Linked DNA regions of Homo sapiens: region 2 is linked to region 1. The links are contacts of gene promoters, found by promoter capture Hi-C in blood cells and fetal thymus (Javierre and others, 2016). All regions are on one chromosome and are shown on one strand. The core of a region is centred on a gene start or on the middle of the fragment in contact, and the rest is flanking DNA. Distances in the headings are between cores, read along the strand shown. Region 1 holds the start of TDRD6 (tudor domain containing 6). Region 2 overlaps ADGRF1 (adhesion G protein-coupled receptor F1).

Region 1 (7,022 bases), core at 196-2,695:
ACAGAGAGCTACAAAATATAATAATATAGAAGTATGTAAAAAAAAAAAAAAAAAGGAATAACCAATTCTGCCAGGTTGAATAGTAGGGTCACGAGGAAACGACGTTTGAGCTAGGTCTTGCTAGATGTTTTTAAATAAAATGTTTTTCTTCCATAATGAATATGAAACAATTAGAAAAAAAATGGGAAAATTGAGTTTTCAAGGATGAGTTCTTCAGGAAAAGAAAAGCTTTGGCTTTTAGAGAAATTGGATTCATTCATTCATTCATTCATATTCATTTAGCAAATATTCATTGCCTTCACTCCAAGCTAGATTCCGAGAATCCAACAAACGGTACTTGCCAAAGGGAACCTGTCGGCTGGTGGGATGATAGAGATCAGACAGTTGCCACACAATGTGAAAAGTGCCGTGAAAAAGTAAGCATAGGGTGATGTGGAAGCACATGGTTGCCTCTAATCTGGACAGACTGAAGACACTGAGATTTACAGTTAGGCCAGGGTCATTTGAAGCACTGCCTTGTTGTATTTGTATGTAATGACATTTCGAAACGTGGAATGAAAGGAAAAGTACAGGCAGACTATAAGAAGCTTCCACGGATGTGTCTAACTTTGCAAATGAACAAAAATCTAATGTAGACATATCCTGGAAACTTCTAGTTTGCCTGCACTTTTCCATTCCAAATGGAGGTTTGGACATTTAACAGAGGCCTCAAAGGGTTATCCTGTTAAGATTTTAGTATATACAGCAGGGGCTTGAAGGAATGTTGATTCCATTCCTCTTGGCCTCCTTTTATGAATCCAGTTCTGTGCTAGCTCTGTGAGTAAATGAAAATGCCTTCAAAATTGGGATGCCAGAGTTAGACAGCAAAGGAGCAAAGGAACCCGTATCAGCTAAGTGTGGGAAGGGAAATATGTACCAGTTGCTATATACTTTCACACGTTATTTTAACCTCATAACAACTCTTATCAATTCAGATGATGGAACAGGGTTAAAGAATAGAGGCTGAGCACCTGGCTGTCCACGGACACACTGAGCCAGCAGGAGCACCCGTGCCCCGCAGCAGCACCCAGGGCCCTCCTAGAGTTCCGGCCTTAACGCCTAGGAACGTGCCATTGGCTCCTGCGTTTCTCGTTCCCGTCGGGAACGCCACTGGCTAGTACCTTGCCTGGCCCCCAGTGCTCAATCCCTGGTAGTTGGGAGGACGAAAAGGAAATCCCTCTCTGGTCGGTCCTCACCGCAGCCCTGTGTCAGGCCGTCACACGGCGGCCTCCAGAGTCGAAGGCGCTCTGAGGAGATGCAGGTTGTGTCCAAAACCTCCCACCTCGGGGTCTCCTGAACGTCCCAACAAGCTCCTTGGGCCCTTAGGCGTTAGGCCAACCCCAGGCCTCGGCTGGCCCCGCCCACTCTCCGCGGCCGGAAGTGGCGGCGCCGAGTGAGGTAAATGCGTGCCCGGAAGCGCGACCTCGGGCGGTTGGAGGGGCTACCGGGTCTTACCAGTCCGTGGCGGGAGTCCCGGAGGACCCTCGACGGGGGAGTTGCCGAGAAAAGGCCTCGCCGGCATTCTTCCCCTCCACTGGGTCCTTTGAACCTAGTTTGGCTGGGACTCGCCTTCAGGCGGCGCGGAGGATTTCGAGGCCCTGAGGCGCGGCCCTTAATTTCCGGAAGTGGGGGCCGCGCCGCGCCGTCAAGATGTGCTCGACGCCCGGAATGCCGGCGCCGGGGGCCTCGCTGGCCCTGCGGGTGTCCTTCGTGGACGTGCATCCCGATGTGATCCCGGTGCAGCTGTGGGGGCTGGTGGGCGAGCGGCGGGGCGAGTACCTGCGGCTGAGCCGGGAAATCCAGGAAGCGGCGGCCACGCGCGGCCAGTGGGCGCTGGGCAGCGCCTCGGCCTCGCCCGGCGAGCTGTGCCTGGTGCAGGTCGGGCTTTTGTGGCACCGCTGCCGCGTGGTCAGCCGGCAGGCACAGGAGAGCCGTGTCTTCCTGCTGGACGAGGGCCGCACCATCACGGCCGGAGCAGGCTCGCTGGCGCCTGGGCGCAGAGAGTTCTTCAATTTGCCCTCGGAAGTGCTGGGCTGCGTGCTAGCGGGCCTGGTGCCGGCAGGCTGCGGCGCGGGCTCAGGCGAGCCGCCGCAGCACTGGCCCGCCGACGCCGTGGACTTCCTTAGCAACCTTCAGGGCAAGGAGGTGCACGGGTGCGTCCTGGACGTGCTGCTGCTCCATCGCCTGGTCCTCCTGGAGGTGCCTGATGTGTTCCAACAGATGCGGGAGCTGGGCCTGGCTCGGCGGGTGCCCGACAGCCTCTTCCGTTCGCTGCTGGAGCGCTATCTCACAGCGGCCACTGCTAGCGTGGGCTCCGGGGTCCCGGTTCTCTCGCGAGTCCCGCTCAAGCAAAAGCAGCCTGGTCTGGATTACTTCTATCCCCAGCTGCAGCTGGGCGTGACGGAGGCCGTGGTCATAACCCAAGTGTGCCATCCCCACCGCATTCACTGCCAGCTCCGCAGCGTCTCGCAGGAGATCCACCGCCTCTCCGAGAGCATGGCCCAGGTATACCGGGGTTCCACGGGGACAGGGGATGAGAACTCTACCAGTGCCACCTGGGAGGAGAGGGAGGAGAGCCCAGATAAGCCGGGCTCTCCGTGTGCATCCTGTGGCCTGGATGGACATTGGTACAGAGCACTGTTGCTTGAGACTTTTCGGCCCCAGCGCTGTGCCCAGGTGCTTCATGTGGACTATGGAAGGAAGGAGTTAGTGAGTTGCAGCAGCCTTCGGTACTTGCTGCCTGAATATTTTCGAATGCCGGTGGTGACCTACCCTTGTGCTTTGTATGGACTCTGGGACGGTGGGAGAGGCTGGTCTCGGTCACAGGTCGGTGACCTGAAGACACTGATACTAGGCAAGGCAGTGAATGCAAAGATTGAATTTTATTGCTCCTTTGAGCATGTGTATTATGTCAGCCTGTATGGAGAAGATGGGATTAATCTGAACCGTGTGTTTGGAGTACAGTCGTGTTGCTTGGCTGACCGAGTCCTTCAGAGCCAGGCAACAGAGGAGGAGGAACCAGAAACATCTCAGTCTCAGTCTCCTGCTGAAGAAGTAGATGAAGAGATTTCACTCCCAGCCTTAAGATCTATCAGGTTAAAGATGAATGCCTTCTACGATGCGCAGGTAGAGTTTGTTAAAAATCCTTCTGAGTTTTGGATTAGGTTGAGGAAACACAATGTCACCTTCAGTAAGCTGATGAGGAGAATGTGTGGTTTCTATTCCTCTGCCAGTAAGCTGGATGGTGTAGTTTTGAAACCTGAACCTGATGACCTTTGCTGTGTCAAGTGGAAAGAAAATGGTTATTATAGGGCCATAGTCACCAAATTGGATGACAAGAGTGTGGATGTATTCTTAGTTGACCGAGGCAATTCGGAAAATGTGGACTGGTATGACGTAAGGATGCTGCTTCCTCAGTTTAGGCAGCTACCAATATTGGCTGTGAAGTGCACCCTGGCTGATATTTGGCCTTTGGGAAAAACTTGGAGCCAGGAGGCAGTTTCCTTTTTTAAAAAGACTGTGCTCCACAAAGAATTAGTCATCCATATTCTTGATAAACAGGATCATCAATATGTTATTGAGATTCTTGACGAATCAAGAACAGGGGAAGAAAACATTAGTAAGGTAATTGCCCAAGCTGGATATGCCAAGTATCAGGAATTTGAAACAAAGGAAAATATCCTGGTAAATGCCCACTCCCCAGGGCATGTTTCAAACCACTTTACTACGGAGAGTAACAAAATACCTTTTGCCAAGACTGGAGAAGGAGAGCAGAAAGCCAAGAGAGAGAATAAAACCACATCTGTTTCAAAAGCTTTGAGTGACACAACAGTTGTAACAAATGGTTCAACTGAACTAGTTGTGCAGGAAAAAGTGAAAAGAGCATCTGTTTATTTTCCTCTTATGCAGAATTGCTTGGAAATTAAGCCAGGCTCCTCTAGTAAAGGAGAGCTGGAAGTTGGAAGTACAGTAGAAGTCAGAGTGTCTTATGTTGAAAACCCTGGCTATTTCTGGTGTCAGCTGACCAGGAACATACAAGGACTTAAAACTCTAATGTCTGATATTCAGTACTATTGCAAAAATACAGCTGCTCCTCACCAGAGAAACACCCTTGCTTGTTTGGCTAAGCGAACAGTAAACAGACAGTGGTCCAGAGCACTTATTAGTGGGATACAGTCTGTGGAGCATGTCAATGTAACATTTGTAGATTATGGAGACAGAGAAATGGTATCTGTGAAGAATATTTATTCAATTAGTGAAGAATTTCTGAAGGTTAAGGCACAGGCTTTTAGGTGCAGTCTTTATAATTTAATTCAACCAGTTGGCCAGAATCCCTTTGTTTGGGATGTAAAGGCAATACAAGCTTTCAATGAATTTATAGATAATGCATGGCAAAAAAATCTAGAATTAAAATGTACAATATTTGCTCTGGCTTCAATTAATGAAGAACTGTTTAACATTGTGGATTTGCTAACCCCCTTTCAGAGTGCATGCCATTTCTTGGTAGAAAAGAGACTTGCAAGACCAGTAAAACTTCAGAAGCCTTTGGAGTCCTCTGTTCAGCTACATTCCTACTTCTATTCTACACATGATATGAAAATTGGAAGTGAAGAATTAGTTTATATAACGCATATTGATGACCCTTGGACATTTTATTGCCAGCTGGCAAGAAATGCAAATATTTTAGAACAGTTGTCATGTAGTATTACACAATTAAGTAAAGTTTTGCTGAATTTAAAAACATCTCCCTTGAACCCTGGAACCTTGTGCCTTGCCAAGTATACTGATGGAAACTGGTATAGGGGCATAGTAATAGAGAAAGAGCCAAAGAAAGTCTTCTTTGTTGATTTTGGGAATATTTATGTAGTAACAAGTGATGATCTGCTTCCAATACCTAGTGATGCATATGATGTCTTACTTTTGCCCATGCAAGCTGTCAGATGTTCATTATCTGATATTCCTGATCATATACCAGAAGAAGTGGTGGTGTGGTTTCAGGAGACTATTTTAGATAAGTCATTGAAGGCTTTAGTTGTAGCAAAAGATCCAGATGGAACACTGATTATAGAACTATATGGTGACAATATTCAAATTAGTGCTAGTATTAATAAGAAGTTGGGGCTACTTAGTTACAAAGATAGAATAAGAAAAAAAGAAAGTGAAGTCCTCTGTTCTACAACTGAAACTCTTGAAGAAAAAAATGAGAATATGAAGTTGCCATGTACAGAGTATTTAAGTAAATCAGTAGGGTACAAGTTACCTAATAAAGAAATTTTGGAAGAGTCATATAAACCTCAGATCAACTCATCATACAAGGAACTCAAACTTTTACAAAGTTTAACAAAAACAAACTTAGTCACTCAATATCAAGACTCTGTGGGAAATAAAAATAGTCAAGTGTTTCCATTAACAACAGAAAAGAAAGAAGAAATTTCTGCTGAGACACCCTTGAAAACAGCAAGAGTAGAAGCTACTCTTTCAGAGAGAAAAATAGGAGATTCATGTGACAAAGATTTGCCTCTGAAATTTTGTGAGTTCCCACAGAAGACTATAATGCCTGGATTTAAAACAACTGTATATGTTTCTCATATAAATGACCTTTCAGACTTTTATGTTCAACTAATAGAAGATGAAGCTGAAATTAGTCATCTTTCAGAGAGATTAAACAGTGTTAAAACAAGGCCCGAATATTATGTAGGTCCACCTTTGCAAAGAGGAGATATGATATGTGCTGTTTTCCCAGAAGATAATTTATGGTATCGTGCTGTGATCAAGGAGCAACAACCCAATGACCTTCTCTCTGTGCAGTTTATAGATTATGGCAATGTTTCTGTGGTTCATACTAACAAAATAGGTAGGCTTGACCTTGTTAATGCAATATTGCCGGGGTTGTGCATTCATTGCTCCTTGCAGGGATTTGAGGTTCCTGACAATAAAAATTCTAAGAAAATGATGCATTACTTTTCCCAACGGACCAGCGAGGCTGCAATAAGATGTGAATTTGTTAAATTTCAAGACAGATGGGAAGTTATTCTTGCTGATGAACATGGGATCATAGCAGATGATATGATTAGCAGGTATGCTCTCAGTGAAAAATCTCAAGTAGAACTTTCTACCCAAGTAATTAAAAGTGCCAGTTCAAAGTCTGTTAACAAATCAGACATTGACACTTCAGTATTTCTTAACTGGTATAATCCAGAAAAAAAAATGATAAGAGCTTATGCCACTGTGATAGATGGACCTGAGTACTTTTGGTGTCAGTTTGCTGATACGGAGAAACTTCAGTGTTTAGAAGTAGAAGTACAGACTGCTGGAGAACAGGTAGCAGACAGGAGAAATTGTATCCCATGTCCTTATATTGGAGATCCTTGTATAGTAAGATACAGAGAAGATGGACATTATTATAGGGCACTTATCACTAATATTTGTGAAGATTATCTTGTATCTGTCAGGCTTGTGGACTTTGGAAACATTGAAGACTGTGTGGACCCAAAAGCACTCTGGGCCATTCCTTCTGAACTTCTGTCGGTTCCCATGCAAGCCTTTCCATGTTGCCTCTCAGGGTTTAACATTTCAGAAGGATTATGTTCTCAAGAGGGAAATGACTATTTCTATGAAATAATAACAGAAGATGTGTTGGAAATAACAATACTAGAAATCAGAAGGGATGTTTGTGATATCCCTTTAGCAATTGTTGACTTGAAAAGCAAAGGTAAAAGTATTAATGAGAAAATGGAGAAATATTCTAAGACTGGTATTAAAAGTGCTCTTCCCTATGAAAATATTGACTCAGAGATAAAGCAGACTCTTGGGTCCTACAATCTTGATGTAGGACTTAAGAAATTAAGTAATAAAGCTGTACAAAATAAAATATATATGGAACAACAGACAGATGAGCTTGCTGAAATAACTGAAAAAGATGTAAACATTATTGGAACCAAACCAAGTAACTTCCGTGACCCTAAAACTGATAACATTTGTGA
Region 2 (6,787 bases), core at 2,589-5,088, 310 kb after region 1:
GATTTGATGGTTGGATTGTCTGTGTATGAGGACTCTTGGCCTTCCTGTAGGGTGATTATCTGGAAAAATAATTCCTTAGTAAATATTCAAAGTCAGTATCTTCAATGTTTCCTCCTGTTATAATCAGATTCTCCAGAGATGCCTGTTCAGACTTGACTTGGGTCGGCTGTGTCCCCACCCAAATCTCATCTTAAATTGTAGCTCCCATAATTCCCACGTGTTGTGGGAGGGACCCAGTGGGAGATAATTGAATGATGGAGCCAGTTTTACCCATTCTGTTCTCATGGTAGTAAATAAGTCTCAAAAGATTTGGTGGTTTTACAAGGGGAAACCCCTTTCATATCGTTTTCACTCCCTTTCTTGCCCGCTGCCATGTAAGAAGTCCCTTTACTCCTCCTTTGTCTTCCACCATGATTGTGAGGCTTCCCCAGCCATGTGGAACTGTGGGCCCATTAAACCTTTTTTTAAAATAAATTACCCAGTCTTAGGTATGTGTTTATCAGCAGCATGAGAATGGACTCATACAAGACTCTTGCCTTAAAAATGTAAGACTTGCTGCCATTGTTATATGTCAACTTTCACTAAACCTTTTGTTTTCAGGATGGGAAAACCTCTCCCAACTGATTCTGCTGTCTCTCAGTCCCAATATCCCATCTTTTTCCACATCTCCATATAATCTATTAGTAGGATGAAGGAAAGGACATTTGCTTGGCTACTTGGGATTAGAGAGGTACCTGGGGGACCAGATGCTTCCTAAATTGAACTTGAACCAACCAAATCTACTATTCAGTCCCATATTCATCCAAATTCTTAAGGTACCTGGTGCTGCAAAGTCTTAAGTCTCTTGGGGGATTCTGCAGTGTAAAGTAGGTTGCTTCTTGTTTTTCCCCACCACTGGCTTAATATTTAACTTTCTCAGGTCTTCTAAGTCAGTTCACACCACCCCACCTGCTTTCCAAAGGTGTGTTGCTGTTATCTCCTCTCTTGTTCCCAATCTTTGGAATTTCATGTCTGTGACCTCCAGTGATCCCTCCCTCCTGGCATTCACACCTTTTGAAATGCCCTCCTCTCGATTGTGGCCAGGGCCTGTGACTTGGTTCTAACCTGTGAAATATGGCAAAAGTTATGGGTTGTCACTCTCCTAATTATCTTACATTAAACAAGACTCTCTCTTAAAAGCAGACTGGAGTTAGAGACTGTCCTTGCAGGCTTAATGTTGTAAGTGGCCAAGTTGGAAAAGCCCATGTGGTGAAAAAAATAGGGGTGGCCTCTAGGGTCTGAGGATGAACTCTAGCCAATAGTCAGCAAAAAGCCACCATTCTCATTCCCACAACCACAAGGGGACAAATTCTGCCAACAACCTGAATGAGTCAGAAGTGAATTCTTCCCCACCTGCACCTCCAGATGACATGACAGTCCATCCAGTACCTTGATGACAGCCTTGTGTAACCCTGAGCAAAGTACAAGCTTAGCTGTGCATGGAATCCACCCATGACCACTTTGAGATAATAAATGTGTGTTGCTTTAAGCTGCTGAGTTTGCAGCAATTTTATATGCAGCAATAAAAAACTATCATAACAGAAATGGAATAAACTATTATAATAGAAAACACAGCAATAGAAAATTATTACAATGCTATTCACTTTTTCATTATTTTATTGTTGTTTTAGTAGCATTTTGAGGTGAATGTATGCATAATCAGTGAATTAGACAAGCATGCACATACATGATATCTGATCAAACATTTTTTTGTCTCTCATCATCCTCATAAAATTTATTCAGTGGGAGAAGCTTTTTCTTCCATCAGATACATTCCAGTTGTATGCCAACATACTCAGGTAAGAGCAACATTTTGGTCATTTTAAATAGTTTGGTAATTATGACTCCCAGTCGCCTACAATAAGAAGAAACTACAATAATTTAGTACTAAATTTTTCTTCCCTCTCCAACTGAGTCTTGTGTTGAGTTGCCTACTTGCGCTAGCACATCTTCCCTTGCTGGTTGACATTTTTGCTAAGATTTCTCCCTCTCCTTCCACCCCACCTTGGACACGGAGGTTTCTGGCCTCCCTTTCCCCAAGGTCCCCAAAAAAAGAAATCTGTCTTATGAGATAGGGCTGCCTTCACATGGTGTCAGGGTTCTCTGGATAGTAATTGTGTGTAATAAGAGAGGGAGCATTCAAGAACTCCCATAGAAATTCTCATAGCCCTGACTTCTCATCTTTAGCTTGTGTAGATTTTTTTGTATTCCAGGTGGTCATTTGTGACTCCTTCCTCATCCCACAATCTGGCTTCACCTCCCACTTCTTGATGCTGGGTTCCCTCCACCTCTTTGGACAACCCTATCAGAGAGGACCTAAAAGAGCCCCATGCTGACCTTCACTCTTGCATGTCTCACTATGGTTCATGGGAAACACACACATCCATTGCCCTGACAAACACTAGACATACAGGCTATTCTCAACACAGAACTCATTCAGGGCTCTACTACCGGAGCTGTGGCCACAATTCTAGGCAAGAATCAGACTTCCATCAGCCATGCATCCTAATTGTTGTGGTTCTGAGAAATCTGAGCTATCTGAGCTATCTGAGAAATCTTCTCTCACTAAATTTGAGGTCAAGGAGCAGACATTCCTCCTTCTCTCACTTTTGTGGGTAGGTAGAGTGAGAAGGCTCATAGAGCAGTTTTCTGCAAAGAAGTCTTTCTCATAAAATTCTGTTGACTCTCATACATATTTGTGGGGTATAGAACCATCTAACTGATCCTCAGTCATTTCCTTTGAACCTCTCACTTTCATATTTCATGTGTGCTGCACCTTGGTGCCTTGTGGAAGTCTAACTTTGAATTTCTCTCAGGTATGCTTATTTAATCTACCACCACTAACTAGAAGTTCCCCCAGCTGTCTTTATTTGCATAGCATGAAGGCTTTCCATGTCAGGAGGCTAAGAGACACTCCCTAGGCCTCTCAAAACAGCAAGGATGAATCAAAGGCTCGGGTTCCTCTGGGCACTATGGTCACGGCTGAAACTCAGGTAGGTGAGCCAAATGTGATGGAAGTATGGAAGAGAAGTGTTGCTTCACATAGCGTCAACTCCTGCTGCTTTGTATGTCATCCAAAAGTGGCACTGGCTGTACAAGAAAATAACTTCCACAAAGTGCCTATGGTGTATTATGAAAGAAAATAAGGATGTTTTAAGGTACCTCCCTGGAAGCTGACAACCAAATTCTCCCTTAATTTCTCTCTTACATAGAATTCTGGGAATGGTGAACTGTGTAACTGACCTCAGAAAGATTTACTAGAGATGTAGGTAATTTTCAAGGCTTTTATTGGCTGTAGAAATGGTCTGGGAGACAAATGTCCTAAAAATCCCCAATTTCCCTTAACTGGCTTCACAATCTTTGGCAAGTCACTTTACCTCTCTGAGCCCCCATGCCCTCATCTCTGCACTAGGTCTGCCTTGACACTTTTGTTTGCAGGGTTTAGGACCAGATGGAAGTGCCTTGTAAACTGAAAAATACCACATTATATATCATATCACATTATTATACTTTCTGATAAATGGTTACAAAGCTATCTGAAATAGAAGTTTACATTTTATTTCTGATTAACTTTCAATATTAAGTGATAGAACCTAAGAAGCAAAAGCGAACATAAAATTCAACTGGAAAATTTGAAAGAGAAATGGTTTTTTCTCTAGGAAATTTGCACTAATAACTTTTTCCCACCATCCCCCCACCAGTAACTTTTTGACAAGAAAATGAACGTGGCCTATTAATTTATCTAAAGCTATTTCATAAAATTTTCTTCCTTCAATCCAGATTATTGGAAATGCCATGTGAATAATGCTGTTTTATGAAAATAGAAACCATATTTTATGGTCAGGGTACAACTGACACGATTTCCAACAAAACCTACTCTTCTGCATTTATGGAGCACTTTCTTTGAATCAAATCACATGGAAATAAATCTTCTTTTCATTTAATTGAAGACAAAAGGGAGCAGTAATGAAGCCACTGAGACATTCTTGTTTTATTCCCAGACCCCTAAATCAGAAAACCCGATCGAATACTGAGCATAATTTCTTCATTGACATTTGTCTCTAAATGTCAAGTTGTTCTGGAAATTTTTTCTTGATTTTATGATTCCTTGCCTTATTCATTTGAGACAAACTGAGTTAGCATGATGTTGTCGGAGGAATCTCCAGTATGAGAAAATGCATAATGGCCTGAAGGGGAAAAAAAAAGGAAATAATTATTGTTACTCTGTTGAAATCAAGCATGAGACCAAAATGAAAATTAGCCTGTAGATTATTTCACAACTAGGAACAGTTTTTAAAAGATTCTAGGTAAAGACAAAAAGACTGTGGTTGGTGGAGAGAAATAGCATTTCACCAACACCCCAGAGGCTTGCATTTGTCAAGTATCACTTATTTGAGAAATATCATGTTTTTCAAATATTGCTGGGAAATGACATAAAGTAGATTGAGATCACAATATGTTATTGCTGGAAGAATCTTAGTAATCTCTTAGCTTTTTATTTTATAGATGAGGAACAAATGTCCCCAAAAGGTAGAGACTTGTAAAAAAGCGCTCAAGCTGACTGGTGGCAATAACAACAGAACCCAAGGGTCCGGGACAAGCACATTCTCCAGACACTTGAACTTTATCTGGAATTTGAATAATTTCAATGGGAATATAAAATGAGTTTCCTACATTAATGATGACATTAACATAACTGAATGTGAAATGGGACTTTAACTCTTAAGCATGGTTTCAACTTAGCTTGTAAGGCAATGTCTCCTCCTCCACTTCCATGTTCCAACCTTCTCTCTCCTCCAAGAATGCTGTGGCTACTTGCAATGTTTAAACACTGGTCTTGCAGTTGCTCAATAGCACAGACTTTAGTAACCGCCAATCAATGAACATAGGGCCAGTGCATGTCACAGGTGGAGGAGACAGTGCTCTTTCACTCTTAGCAGGTGTGGCCCCTTCCTGCCCAGGGGCATTTTAGGGAGGAGGACATGTGCAACATCAGGGCACAAGCACCTGGCCGCGTGCCCACTGCTTGGCAGCTGGCACAAAGGGGTGATTCTCCAATAAGGACATAAATCGTGTTAGTCTAACCACACTCCTTCCCTTCAAGGCCTCAATGATCAATGCCACAGATTTATCTAATGTCAAACTTGGGAAATAGAGATAATTTGTGATGACATTACATAAAGACACTCTCTGGTTCTCCATGAGCATCAAGTCACCTACATTGTTCTGTCAGCCCTGAGCACGGTCTGGATGAACTCTGAAAACATGGCTGGCTGATAATCCCACACTTCTCACATGAGTTTCTTACATGTTGCCATTGAATTTTATTCATATGATATACTCATATACTCTTTTCACACCTTTTATAACCTTTGGTTTTATTGTAACTCACCTTTGTTTTGCAGTGGGTTGAAAGGCTTTGAGAATTTGGGTTTGGCAGATAAATCTGATGAGTTTTGCTGCACAAAATAAAAATAAGTCATTTGGACATTAATAGCATTCTTTTACTGTTGGTCTGCATTTCCTGACTTCCTGATGTTATTCATGATTCTTTATTTCATTTTCATAGGTGCTATTCTCTTTTTAAGAATTTAGAATGGTTACTTTCTCACTCTTTCTTCTGCTTTAATCTATTTAAAATGCCTAAAAATTTATTTTCAAGTGAATGCTGTGTTCCTGTGTATTTTTATAACTTCTAACAACAAACTAGAAAACAGTTTTAAAGGCGGCATTATCCCTTTTCATGTCTATGCTTACATTTCTTTGGATCACATTTGTTACTGGAAGAGAAACCCATGGAGGAAAATGGAGGAAAAACAGTGCTCTGACTAAAAATGATTCTCAACAAAGCTTTGCTTTACTCTTGCTCATCTTAGCTCTCAAACCTACTTTTGAATGACGCTTTGGTCATTGCTACAGAGGCTATATAGAGTTCAATAATTTAACAGCTGAATTATAAAATTAAATAAAATATTTGAAACAAAGAGCATGTACTTATCAGGAAAGATAAATGTGTTTACATACATTATATATTTTTCTACTCATTAGTTCATCATTCATTTGTCCATTAATTTACCATCTCATATTGAATGCCTTTGTGTGCCAGATGCTGTTCTGGCACTGGGAATATTGGAAGGAAAACTTCCATTCCTTGCTACAGTCTATGCCACAAGGAAACCAAACCAAGGTGGGAAAAACATGTTCTTATTATATTCAGTAGATAGACCAGTGATAGTTTTTCAATTTTCACTGGTATTAAGGCACACTGAGTTCTGAAAAAAAAAAGCTACAAAAATAAGAATTAAAAATATTTGAAACTTTCAAAGCAAAATAATTAATTTTCTAGAATTCAGGGCTCAGCAAACATTTAATGCTATAAACCTTTAAAAAAATCATAAGGTCAGGGATCATGGCACTTAAAATTGCATCCTGTACCATTTGGAGATAGGAATTTTAGGTTGTAACATACTCAATATACTTCCTTGTGGTCTGGGAAGAAGTAGCCTCTTCAGGTGTGTGAAGTTATATGGGTCGAAACACTTAGCCAAATAACAGGCCGTGAGTTACTGGAACTCAGATGTAGGTCTGTAAATCTATTCTTTGTGGAGGGGGGTCCATTGAGGCCACCAGAGTCTGTGACTTGGAGAAGAGTTACAGAGAACATGCCTAGGGACAATGGAGGGTCAAGACAGGGGCCTGAGCATGGAGAAGATTTGGGGTCCATACAGTGTGCTGTGGCTTGAAGGAT

The links. Contacts are between HindIII fragments. The CHiCAGO score rates a contact against its expected background, and 5 or more counts as called.
Region 2: a contact is called between a fragment that was not itself captured here and the fragment with the promoter of TDRD6 in region 1, in 1 of 17 cell types (M2 macrophages). The highest score is 5.9, in M2 macrophages.

What each region holds. Positions count from the first base shown.
Region 1 is chr6:46,686,440-46,693,461 of GRCh38, forward strand. It overlaps TDRD6 (tudor domain containing 6), which reads left to right and starts at 1,446. Exons shown (of 4, transcript NM_001010870.3): 1 at 1,446-7,022. The coding sequence starts at 1,690. TDRD6-AS1 (TDRD6 and SLC25A27 antisense RNA 1) reads right to left here and starts at 1,726. Exons shown (of 2, transcript NR_134643.1): 1 at 1,495-1,726. The HindIII fragment of the contact is 3,266 bases long and covers 586-3,851 here.
Region 2 is chr6:46,996,070-47,002,856 of GRCh38, forward strand. It overlaps ADGRF1 (adhesion G protein-coupled receptor F1), which reads right to left. Exons shown (of 15, transcript NM_153840.4): 14 at 5,432-5,498; 15 at 1,639-4,226. The coding sequence ends at 4,153. Among named protein-coding and RNA genes, the nearest start is that of ADGRF1, 43 kb to the right of the region's middle. The HindIII fragment of the contact is 4,098 bases long and covers 1,790-5,887 here.